Regions from separate parts of the Homo sapiens genome. Here regions 2 and 3 are each linked to region 1. The links are contacts of gene promoters, found by promoter capture Hi-C in blood cells and fetal thymus (Javierre and others, 2016). All regions are on one chromosome and are shown on one strand. Each heading gives the region's core, a stretch centred on a gene start or on the middle of the fragment in contact. The rest is flanking DNA. Distances are from core to core; before and after follow the strand shown.

Evidence for each region. Contacts are between HindIII fragments. The CHiCAGO score rates a contact against its expected background, and 5 or more counts as called.
Region 2: a contact is called between a fragment that was not itself captured here and the fragment with the promoter of LYZL4 in region 1, in 1 of 17 cell types (naive CD4 T cells). The highest score is 5.2, in naive CD4 T cells.
Region 3: a contact is called between a fragment that was not itself captured here and the fragment with the promoter of LYZL4 in region 1, in 2 of 17 cell types (naive CD8 T cells and M2 macrophages). The highest score is 5.8, in naive CD8 T cells.

Annotation. Positions count from the first base shown.
Region 1 is chr3:42,409,017-42,412,338 of GRCh38, reverse strand. LYZL4 (lysozyme like 4) reads left to right here and starts at 1,729. Exons shown (of 5, transcript NM_144634.4): 1 at 1,729-1,922. The HindIII fragment of the contact is 15,012 bases long and covers 1-3,322 here.
Region 2 is chr3:42,232,253-42,235,574 of GRCh38, reverse strand. No RefSeq gene overlaps it. Among named protein-coding and RNA genes, the nearest start is that of CCK, 32 kb to the left of the region's middle. The HindIII fragment of the contact is 2,505 bases long and covers 380-2,884 here.
Region 3 is chr3:42,270,967-42,274,288 of GRCh38, reverse strand. No RefSeq gene overlaps it. Among named protein-coding and RNA genes, the nearest start is that of CCK, 6.4 kb to the right of the region's middle. The HindIII fragment of the contact is 1,743 bases long and covers 801-2,543 here.

The DNA.
Region 1 (3,322 bases), core at 480-2,979:
GGAGAATATTTCCACTATTATGCCTTCAGAGGTGGGAGTTTCTGCAGATGGAATGTTTCTCGATTAACTGATTTCTGTGAAAACACCTTAGTTTTCTGCCAACCAGCCTCCAGCTGAGCCAACACTAAAGACTGTTGAGAAAATAGGCATGTATGGATTTAAGCCTCAGCGTTTATGGCCTGGTTTTAGTTTTTCTTTTATGATTCTTTACATTATTAATTTTCAATTAATCGACTAATTACCAGTTCTAATTGAGTCAGCCAGACAGACTAATGTGTTTTCAAAAGGCCAATTTGCCCTCAATCATCTCAATATCTCTTAACTTTTGGAGCTGAAAAGGACCTTAAAGATAACCCAGTCTGATGCCCTCAAGTCACAGATGAAGATGCCCAGGCCCCAAGAGAGGATGTCTTTGACCATGGCCCTCTGGTGACTAGGAAAGCTACATAAGGGCTTCTCCCACTGTTCCACCTAGAAGGCAGTCCTATGAGGGCCCGGAAGAATGCTGTAGCAGGCAGAATACTGATCTCCCAAAGGTGTCCTAATGAAGCCATGCCCCAAAGAGTTAAAAAAACCAATGACTAACAGAAATTCTTGAGTTTGCAGGATGGCAGGTAAGAAAAGAAACAACTTGCTGAAATACTGAAACTCCCTCTGCTTATGAGATATAAGAACTGGCTGAAATCAGCTGGAACCAAGATGGCCGACCAGAGTCTAGGCAGAACCAGCTTGCTGATGTCACAGACTAAATTTCCACCATGTGCTTTATACTAACTTTCCCCATAATTGCCCAGGGGACCCATAAAATAGTATGAAGAGATAACTGCATATGACCCAGGACTTTCCAGCCCTTCCCTTTCTTCCACCAAATCACCTACTAATCTTAGAATCCCCTAAACTTTTTCTAATAAAAATACTGCATCACAGGAGACAGATTTGAGGTTGACACTGCTGTCTCCTTGAAAATCGACAATATATTGATTATATATTTAAAATTAAATATTTATATTTCAATAAAAAGCCTTTTCTCAAACACCCAGTGTCATAGCGTTGGCTTCCAATGCATTGAATCACTTTTGTTCGGTAACACTCACCCCTGGAACCTCTGAATGTGTTAGTTTGCATGGCAAAAGAGACTTTGCAGATGTGTTTAAGGTTAAAGACTTTGAGAAGCAGAGGTTATCCTGGATGGTCCGGCTGGACCAATCTAATCATGAGTCCTTAGACAGGGAAGGGGAGGAAGAAAAGAGGGTCAGAAAGATACAATGACAGAAGAAGAGGCAAGAGAAATTCAAAGTGTGAGAGGGTTTGACTCACCCTTGCTGGCTTTGAAGATAGAGGAAGGCAACAGAGCTAAGAAATGCAGACAGTGCTTAGCAGCTGGGAATGGCCCTTAGCCGACAGCCAGCAAGGAAACAGGGAACTCAGCCCTGTGACTGCAGAAACTTTATTCTGCCAACAACCTCAATGAGCAAGGGAATGAATCCTCTTCTAAAGCCTTTGGGAAGGAGCACAGCCCTGCTGACACCTTAATTTTAGGCCTGTGAGACCCATTTCTGACTTCAGGGCTATAGAACTTTAAGATAATAAATTGTGTTGTTTAAGCCACTAAATTTGTGGTAATGTATTTCAGCAGCAATAGAAAACTAATACAAATGTGACAGTGACAGACCCTCCCTTTTTCAGAATATCCTGGTGCATAGCAACTGATGTCATAGAAAGGATTCTAGAAGAGCATGTCATGGAGAACTCTTGGGTGCAGACAAGTGGATGATTAATGAAGTAGCATCTGAAAAACCCAAGGAACCAAATGTAGGTGGAGCAACTTCCCTGCAACACACGTCGAAGCTGCTGCAGTGGCTGTTCTTCCCCTCCCCTTGGAAAGGCACCAAAAGCCAGCCTTTGGAAGGGCTGGTGGACTGGTAGGCGGGTATATGGTGGGCAGGAGGGTAACGGGCATGACAATACCCAGCTGCAGGAGAAGCTCATCAGCAAATTCACTTATTGCTTATTTGATGACAGTTCAGTTGGGAAGAGGAGGTTTTTGTTCATTCATTCATTCAACAAAGTTTCATTGAGCACCTACTCTGTATTAGGTTCTGTTCTGAGTTCTGGGGATAATGAAGAGAAAAAACCAGACCAGGTTTCTGCATTCCTGGTGCTTACACTCAGGTATGGGAGAGAGAAAATAAGCAAGTGAACAGATAAATGAGCAATGGAATTCCTGATATTGATTAATGGTATGAAGAAAATAAAGACCGTCTTCTTTGATGGGGCAGTGATCAAGGAATCTTCTTTGAGGTAGTGAGCTCGTATGTGGTGGTCAGGGCAGTCATGTTCCAGGTAGAAGGAATGGCTGGTGCAAAGGACCTGTGGTGGGAATGAAATTGGCATATTCAAGGAAAAGAAATGTGCAAGGTGACTATGGCAGAGTGAAGGTGAACAAAGGAGAGAGTGATGTAAATTCAGACTGGAGAGGTGCTCAGTGGCTGCATCAGAAAGTCTTGTCAGCCAGGTTGAGGAGTTGGGACCTTATTCAAAGTGCAAGGGGAATCCACTGGAGATTAGTGATGTGACTGGACACATGCTTTATAAAATGCCTTTCCAACTGCTGTGTGGGCAGTGGGTTTAGGGGAACAGAGAGGAGTATGTAGTAGAGGAGTGTAGTTAGAAAGTCTCCACCTTAGAGGTGATGGTGGTCTGGATTAGGATGATGGCAGAAAAGATGAGAGGCGAATAGGTTCTGGAAGAACTGTAGATGGCACACCCTGATGAACCTGATGAACTGGCTTCTGGGGGAGAGGGGAGGAGAGGACTCAGTATGCCTTCTACGAGTTGAGATGATGCCTGCCCTGTGGAAGACAGACATTACCAGAAAATGTTGTTTGCTCTGTTGGGAAATGAAACATGCATTGAGATTCACTTTTTTTAATTATTATAATTTAAGTTCCAGGGTACATGTGCACAATGTACAGGTTTGATACATCAGTATAAAAGGGCAGGGGTGCAACCAGAGCTAAGAAAAATGTCCATACAAGTAAAATCTAGTGCTGTGCATATTTAATTCACTTACTCTTCAAATCAACACAATTAATTAAGTACTGTTTTAATCTGTGTTACAGATGAGGAAACTGAGGAATCAAGAGGTTGAGCAATTTGTCTAAGATTACTGCTGGGATCACTGATATCTCAGCCACTGAGGGGTAAAGCTGGAACTTGGACCCAGGCAATCTGATTCCCAAGTCTGAGCTCTTAAATGCAAGGCCCTCCTAGATACTGTATTTGGTGTACTGGTCATGTCTGCAACTAATCATACAGCTTG
Region 2 (3,322 bases), core at 383-2,882, 180 kb after region 1:
TATTCTTCATTCCATTGATATGATGTATCACATTAATTGATTTGCATATGTTGAACCATCCTTGCATCCCAGGGATAAATCCCATTTGGTCATGATGAGTGATCTTTTTAATGTGTTGTTGAATTCAGTTTGCTAGTATTTTCTTGAGGATTTTTGCATCAATATTCATCAGTGATATTGTTCTTGAAATTCCTCCTGAAGGATGTTTTTAAAATACAGGTGAGTGAGGGCATAATGGATGAAATAAGGCCCCACAAGAGGAGGGAGGGGCTGAGATCCATGTTACTGGTGGAGAAATGGGCCAGAATTGGGATGAAGAACCCAACCTCCTTTACAGCAGACAGGACAGAGAAAGCAATGAGTGAGCCCGTAGCAAGCTTACAGGCTTGATCCCAGAAAGTTGGAAGAATTCCTGTGTGATGCTTCTGCTTTCTTTAGGAAAGAGGGCAAATACATTTTGTTGAGAGTGAGAGTGAGAGAGAGAGAGAGAGAGAGAGATGGAGCAGAAAGTGAGGAATGAGGAAGGTTTGAGATCGTGCCCATAGAGAACGAGAGAGAGCTGACTGGAGAAACATAGGATCACCTGGCTTCATTGAAGGCCTGGCTGAGGTGGGAAACTATAAATTTGGCACTCATGGTTGTGGCAGTCACACTTACTGTTTTCACTGGAAGCCAGCAGTCCTGGTTTGGTCTGGAAAAAAGAAGGTGAACAGTTGAATGATCCAGAATTGAGTGCAACAGTGGACCATAAAACTTAGGAACTAAAGTATTGAAATTATAGGGCACAGTCTAGGCTGGATAGAAGAAAAAGTAAGAAGATTGTGGGGATGGGGGGGCACAGTTGATGGCAAATTAGAAAAGCAGAGGAGGCAGGGGACTAGATGTTTCTGTGAGGTCTAAGAACACAGGGGGAATGCTCTGACTGAGAGAGCCAGGTGCCAAGAGGTTGTGGTGAAAGAGTGGGGTAACTGATTTTTAAATTTCAGAAGTTGAGTGATTTCAGGTGGTAAGTTCAAGGATATGGCTTTGGGAGAGCTCATCAGAAATGGAAGGGTGATGAAGGCCAAAAGAGATGAGGAAGTAGAGGAACTGGGAGCCCAGAGCCAAATGGGTCATCCTTCATGGGTGGCTGAAGTTGTCCAGGTGACAGAAAGACTTAAGATGGTGAAAAGGACAAAGAGTTCAGAGTTGACATAGCAAAGAATTAAGGGAACCTCCAAGAAGCTGAGGGAGGGAGGTTGAGGGTAGCAGTTGGGAAACGTGAACTTCAACAGGGCAGGGGTTTTGAAAGAGGATAACGGAAGAGGAGCACGCCAAAGGCTGCAATAGCAAAAAGGACCAGAGCCCTCAGGAACATGTGGAGGAAGAATCTGTCCCACAGCAGGGTTCTTAGGGACCAGCCAGGTTTGGTCAGATGTGAGGTAGAGGATTCTTGTTGGTGGAGGTCACAGATGTGAAGGAGTCTGTTTACCTGGAACCGGGTACCAGGTAACAGGAAACAGCTGAGACGGCATGGTTCTGAGGAAGACAGGAGCCGAAGGGGCCCATTCCAAGGCATCACCTTCTTCCCACTCCTCTGCGCCGTGAGGGTGATTTGCTAAAAGCAAAAATGACAAATTATTTTTTAAAAGTTTCCTCATTGGGCTGGGCACAGTGGTTCATGCCTGTAATCCCAGCACTTTGGGAGGCCAAGGTGGGCAGATCATTTGAGGTCAGGAGTTCAAGACTAGCATGGCCAACATGGTGAAACCCATCTCTACTAAAAATAATACAAAAATTAGGCAGGTGTGGTGGCATGCACCTGTAGTCCCAGCTACTCAGGAGGCTGAGGCAGGAGAATCACTTGAACCCAGGAGGCGGAGGTTGCAGTGAGCTGAGATCTCGCCACTGCACTCCAGCCTGGGCAACAAAGCAAGACTCTGTCAAAAAAAAAAAAAAAAACTTCCTCATTTAGCAACTGGAAGTTTATTAGGTCTAGTGAAAAGTGCCTTTTACCATAGACATCCTCCTTAAAGGGTGGCCTATGGCTCATGCCAGTCCACAAACTGTCCCTGATGAAATAAGAACAGAAACTGAGAGTAAATGGTTACTTTTCAAGCAATTTGCATTGCCACGTTGTCCAAGTACATGCCAATGGTGTGGACCATTCAAGTGTCATTGCACTCTAATGGTGAGTTTTGGGTGGACAGGCAGCAAACTGACCACAGGCAGGAGGACCACATTACAACCCATGAGATTTTAAGGTTAGTTTGTCAACCGTAAGTCAAAAGCATATAAAAATCTGAGCAAATGTAAGCATTTCTTTTTTTTCTTTTTTTTTTTTTTTTGAGACTGAGTCTCGCCCTGTTTCCCAGGCTGGAGTACAGTGGCGCGATCTCTGCTCACTGCAACCTCCACCTCCAGGGTTCAAGCGATTCTCCTGCCTCAGCCTCCTGAGTAGCTAGGATTACAGGCGCCCACCATCAGACCCGGCTAATTTTTGTATTTTTAGTAGAGACGGGGTTTTGCCATTTTGGCCAGGCTGGTCTCGAACTCCTGACCTCAGGTGATCCGCCCGTCTTGGCCTCCCAAAGTGCTGGGATTACAGGCGTGAGCTACTGCGCCTGCCCAAGCATTTCTTTATTTTTCTAACTTGTTACTTTTACCATCAAGTTAATTCTAATCAAGTTTTTAAAAATTTATAGTTTAATATTATTATCTAAGTTGGAGATATAAAATTTGTATTGTTCATTTGTTAGCCAGACTTTACAGATTGTAAAACAAAGCCTCATAGAAAAATTTTGGCCAAAAAATTACTTTAAATGTCTTATCTTCCTTTCCAACCAACATCTCTCTCTGAGGCTGGTTTCTCTATTGTGAGTGTTATTAAAAGAAAACACAAGCTTATATGTTATCCCCTGCAAATAACACTATTGTTAATCTGAACTAGCTGAGATAAATTAAAAGAATCCAATCCTCATTTATCACATTAAAAACTTGAATATTGTATCAGGCAATATTTGCTATAATTAAAAAAGAAAATAAAAGAAAAAATAAAACTTCAATATTGATATATATTCAAAGTGAGAGTATGTATGTAATATAAAAAATCACGGCTTCACTTGTAACTTTTTGTTTAGTTATAACTGCAGAATGACAGGAGTATAATAGTGAATCTGTATTAAATGCTCTAGGTACACTTTCAATGAATAATACGTACTAACCTCATAATTCTTTTATATTTCCCTGTTTGTTCTCATATTTTTAAAAGGTAATTTTTTTTTTTTTTTGAGACGGAGTTTCACTCTTATTGCCCAGACTGGAGCACAATGGCACAATCTCA
Region 3 (3,322 bases), core at 423-2,922, 140 kb after region 1:
ACACCCATACAATGGAATAGTTTACAGATATTGAGGTAGAATTATGCTAACAGTATAAACTGACCTAACTCAAATACATATTTTAAGTGAAAAAAGTAAAATAGAGAACATTTTGTATTTTATGCTTCCATTTGGAGACTGTGTGTGTGTGTGTGTGTGTGTGTGTGTGTGTATTTCTTTGATACTTATTGATGTGCTTGTATGTGCATTGACTTTATCTGGAAGAATTTACTAAACGCTAAAGCACTCCTTGCCTCTGCATGGTGGAGGAAGAAGAGTGAGGGGAAAAATTGATTTTCACTATATACCCCTTTGCACCTTTTAAATTTTGAATTATATGCACTTAATACTTATTCAAACCATTTTATTTTAAATTTTAAAACTATGAGCCTTTTCTGATAAGGTTGTCCTGGAACAGCTGTGTCCCAAAGCCTTAGTTCAACGGAGGGCCCATGGCCACCATGCAGGCACCAGGCAGGTTGGTAAGGTAGGAGATGTCTCTGCTGGGGGCTGGGACCATTCCAGAGGACACAGACTTGCCCTCTGCTGTGAGGGGACCTCAGCTTCAGAGAGAAGCTGGATCAGCAGGACCACAAAGACTCCCAGACTGCCCTTCAAGTACTTCAAGTCTCACTGTTTGCTAACACTTCCCAAGGAGAGCCATGGAGGCCTCTTCTAAACCTTCCTCAAAAGAAAGTGAACTAAGCAACAGGCCTGAGGACACTGGTGGCTGGTTTCCCTGGCAACTACGGTTCCTCTTTTGGCTTTTCAATATTAGTTTGAAAAGCAAAAGGAAAGCTTCTTCTGCAGAGAGCTCAATCAGCTGGGATCTGACCTCTCATTCCTGTCATCCATTCACGAGGTGATCTCCCATTTCTGGTGGCTTTTCTAACCCTGGCTAAATGAAATGGTGCTAAGAACAATTCCTGTGGCTAATTGGGAGTCCACAATCCAACCAAGGGTCAGCAAATGGCTTTTAATTCATAGCTATCCATCTTGTAAGTCCAGTCAACTAAACTGATGAAACTAACAGCTGAATTTGGTGAACATTTATTGGTCACTTAGCATGTGTCCAGCACAATTCTTGCATTTGAGTGAATAAATCACAATTCCTGCTTTCCTGCATGTCAGATGGCAGATGAGACGTTCATACAGATGAAGAGTTCATTCAACAAATATTCATTGAGCAGCTATGTCCCAAGCCCTATTGTAGGAAATTAAGATACAATATGGTAAATGCTAACATTGAGTACATGCAAAGTGTTAGGAGAGTGTAGTGGCTCCGTGGCTGCCCCACTCATATTCCCTCGGGCCTCACTATCATGGTGCTTGCAGGCCCAGCTTCTGGTCACCAGCATCTGCACCTCTTCTCTGAAGGCTTCCATTGGGGGCTGGATCCTCAGTGGGCCAGAAGTGCTAGGGAATGAATGCCCCAGGAGCTTCCCTTAGCCAGTGAGTGAGTGGAGTTGATGTATAGACATGCACGCACCTTCGCACCCTAGGGTGAGATGGCTCTGAGGCCCACGTTCTGCTCTGGCCCCTAGAGTGCCCCAGGAGGTTAACCACCACCCATAGCTTCACTTGCCCATGATCTCTGTGCTTTTTCTCTTGCTCTTCTCACCCACAGCCCTCTTCACTCCCTTGGGTGGTGTTGGAATTTGTGACCCTTGAACAAGAGGGTCCTCAAGGTCCACCCCAGATTTAGGATTCCTTTATTCCACCAACCTTATAGAAATGCCAGTGAACAAATAAAATGTTAATTTACAGGGATGTTTTACTCTGTTATGGGCGGAATGTTTGTGTCTCCCCAAATTCATATGTTGAAACTGTTAACCAAAAAGTGAGTGACTGTGGCAAGTGTCTAAATCCCAGTACAGGTTTATTGAGCCAAAGTGTGAGGATGCACCTGGGAAAAACACAAGCCACAGAAGCATCTGCAACCTGTCCTTTCCAGGAAACTCAGTATTTAAAGGGAAGGAGCAAGCAGGAGAAAAGAAGGGAAGGGTGTAGGCAGTGAGGCAAACAGCTATCTACTTCTGAGGCTCTGATTGATGCTCAAATAATCTACACTCTACATAAGGTAAACATCTGAAAAGAGGGAGTATGGGAAAAAGTTGATGATGCAGCCATCTCAGGGCAGGCAGAAAAGTGATTGATCTTATCTTGTCCTTGTGTATTAGTCCACTTTCACCCTACTGATAAAGACATACCCAAGACTGGGTAATTTATACAGGAAAAAGGGTTTAATGCACTTACACATGGCTGGGGAGGCCTCACAATCATGGCAGAAGGCAAGGAGGAGCAAGTCACATCTTACATGGATGGCAGCAAGCAAAGGGAGAGCTTGTGCAGGGAAAATCAACCTTATAAAACCATCAGATCTCATGAGACTTATTCTCAATCACAAGAACAGCATGAGAAAGACCTGCCCCCATAATTCAATTACCCCCCACTGGGTCCCTCCAACAACATGTGGGAATTCAAGATGAGATGTGGATGGGGACACAGCCAAGCCATTTCATTTGTACCTGGGAAGATAAGCTTATAAACGACATTGTCAGGATAAAATTGAAGAGAGCTCAGTTTTAGGAGTTAAACTTGGCTTACAGACCTAAAGTTACAATTGGTGTGTGCTTGTTTTACAGGGGGATATGTGTCTTGAATGATTTAGAGACCTGCAAGGAATTCCCTTGTGAGCAATTTGTGAGGGTGACCATCCAGAGAGGTGGAAGGCCGTTCATCATTGTGGGAACCTGGCTTATGTATAAAGCTATGAAAACACAGGGTTGTGTCTGTTGTTTAAGCCACCCAGTCTGTGGTATTTTGTTATAGCATCCTGAGGTGACAGTGACACAATCTCTGTTAATGTACCTTTTATGTTCCCTCACCTGTAGCTATTCCCACCTCAGCCGTCTGCTTCTCTGTAGATGTTTGTTTCAGGAAAAAGAAAGGCAGTGTTGCATGGCTCAGTCTCTAGGCTTAACTCTCCCCTTGACATAATGAGTTTGGGGATCTTGAGATTTCCGAGATTTGATTTTCTCGTACAAAGCCCTAACCCCCAATGTGATGGTATTAGGAGGTGGGGACTTTGGAAGGTGATGGTGATTAGGTTTAGATGAAGTCAGATGGGGGAGGACCCTCATGATAGGATTAATGTCTTTATAAGAAGAGACACCGGAGAGCTAGCACTCTTGCTCTCTCTCTCCCCACCCCCCAACCTCCCTCTCTCTGCCACGTGTGGATACAGCAAGAAGTAGTCCATCAGTAAGCCAGGAAAAGAGCCTTCACCAGGACCCCGCCATGCTGGCACCCTAATCTCAAA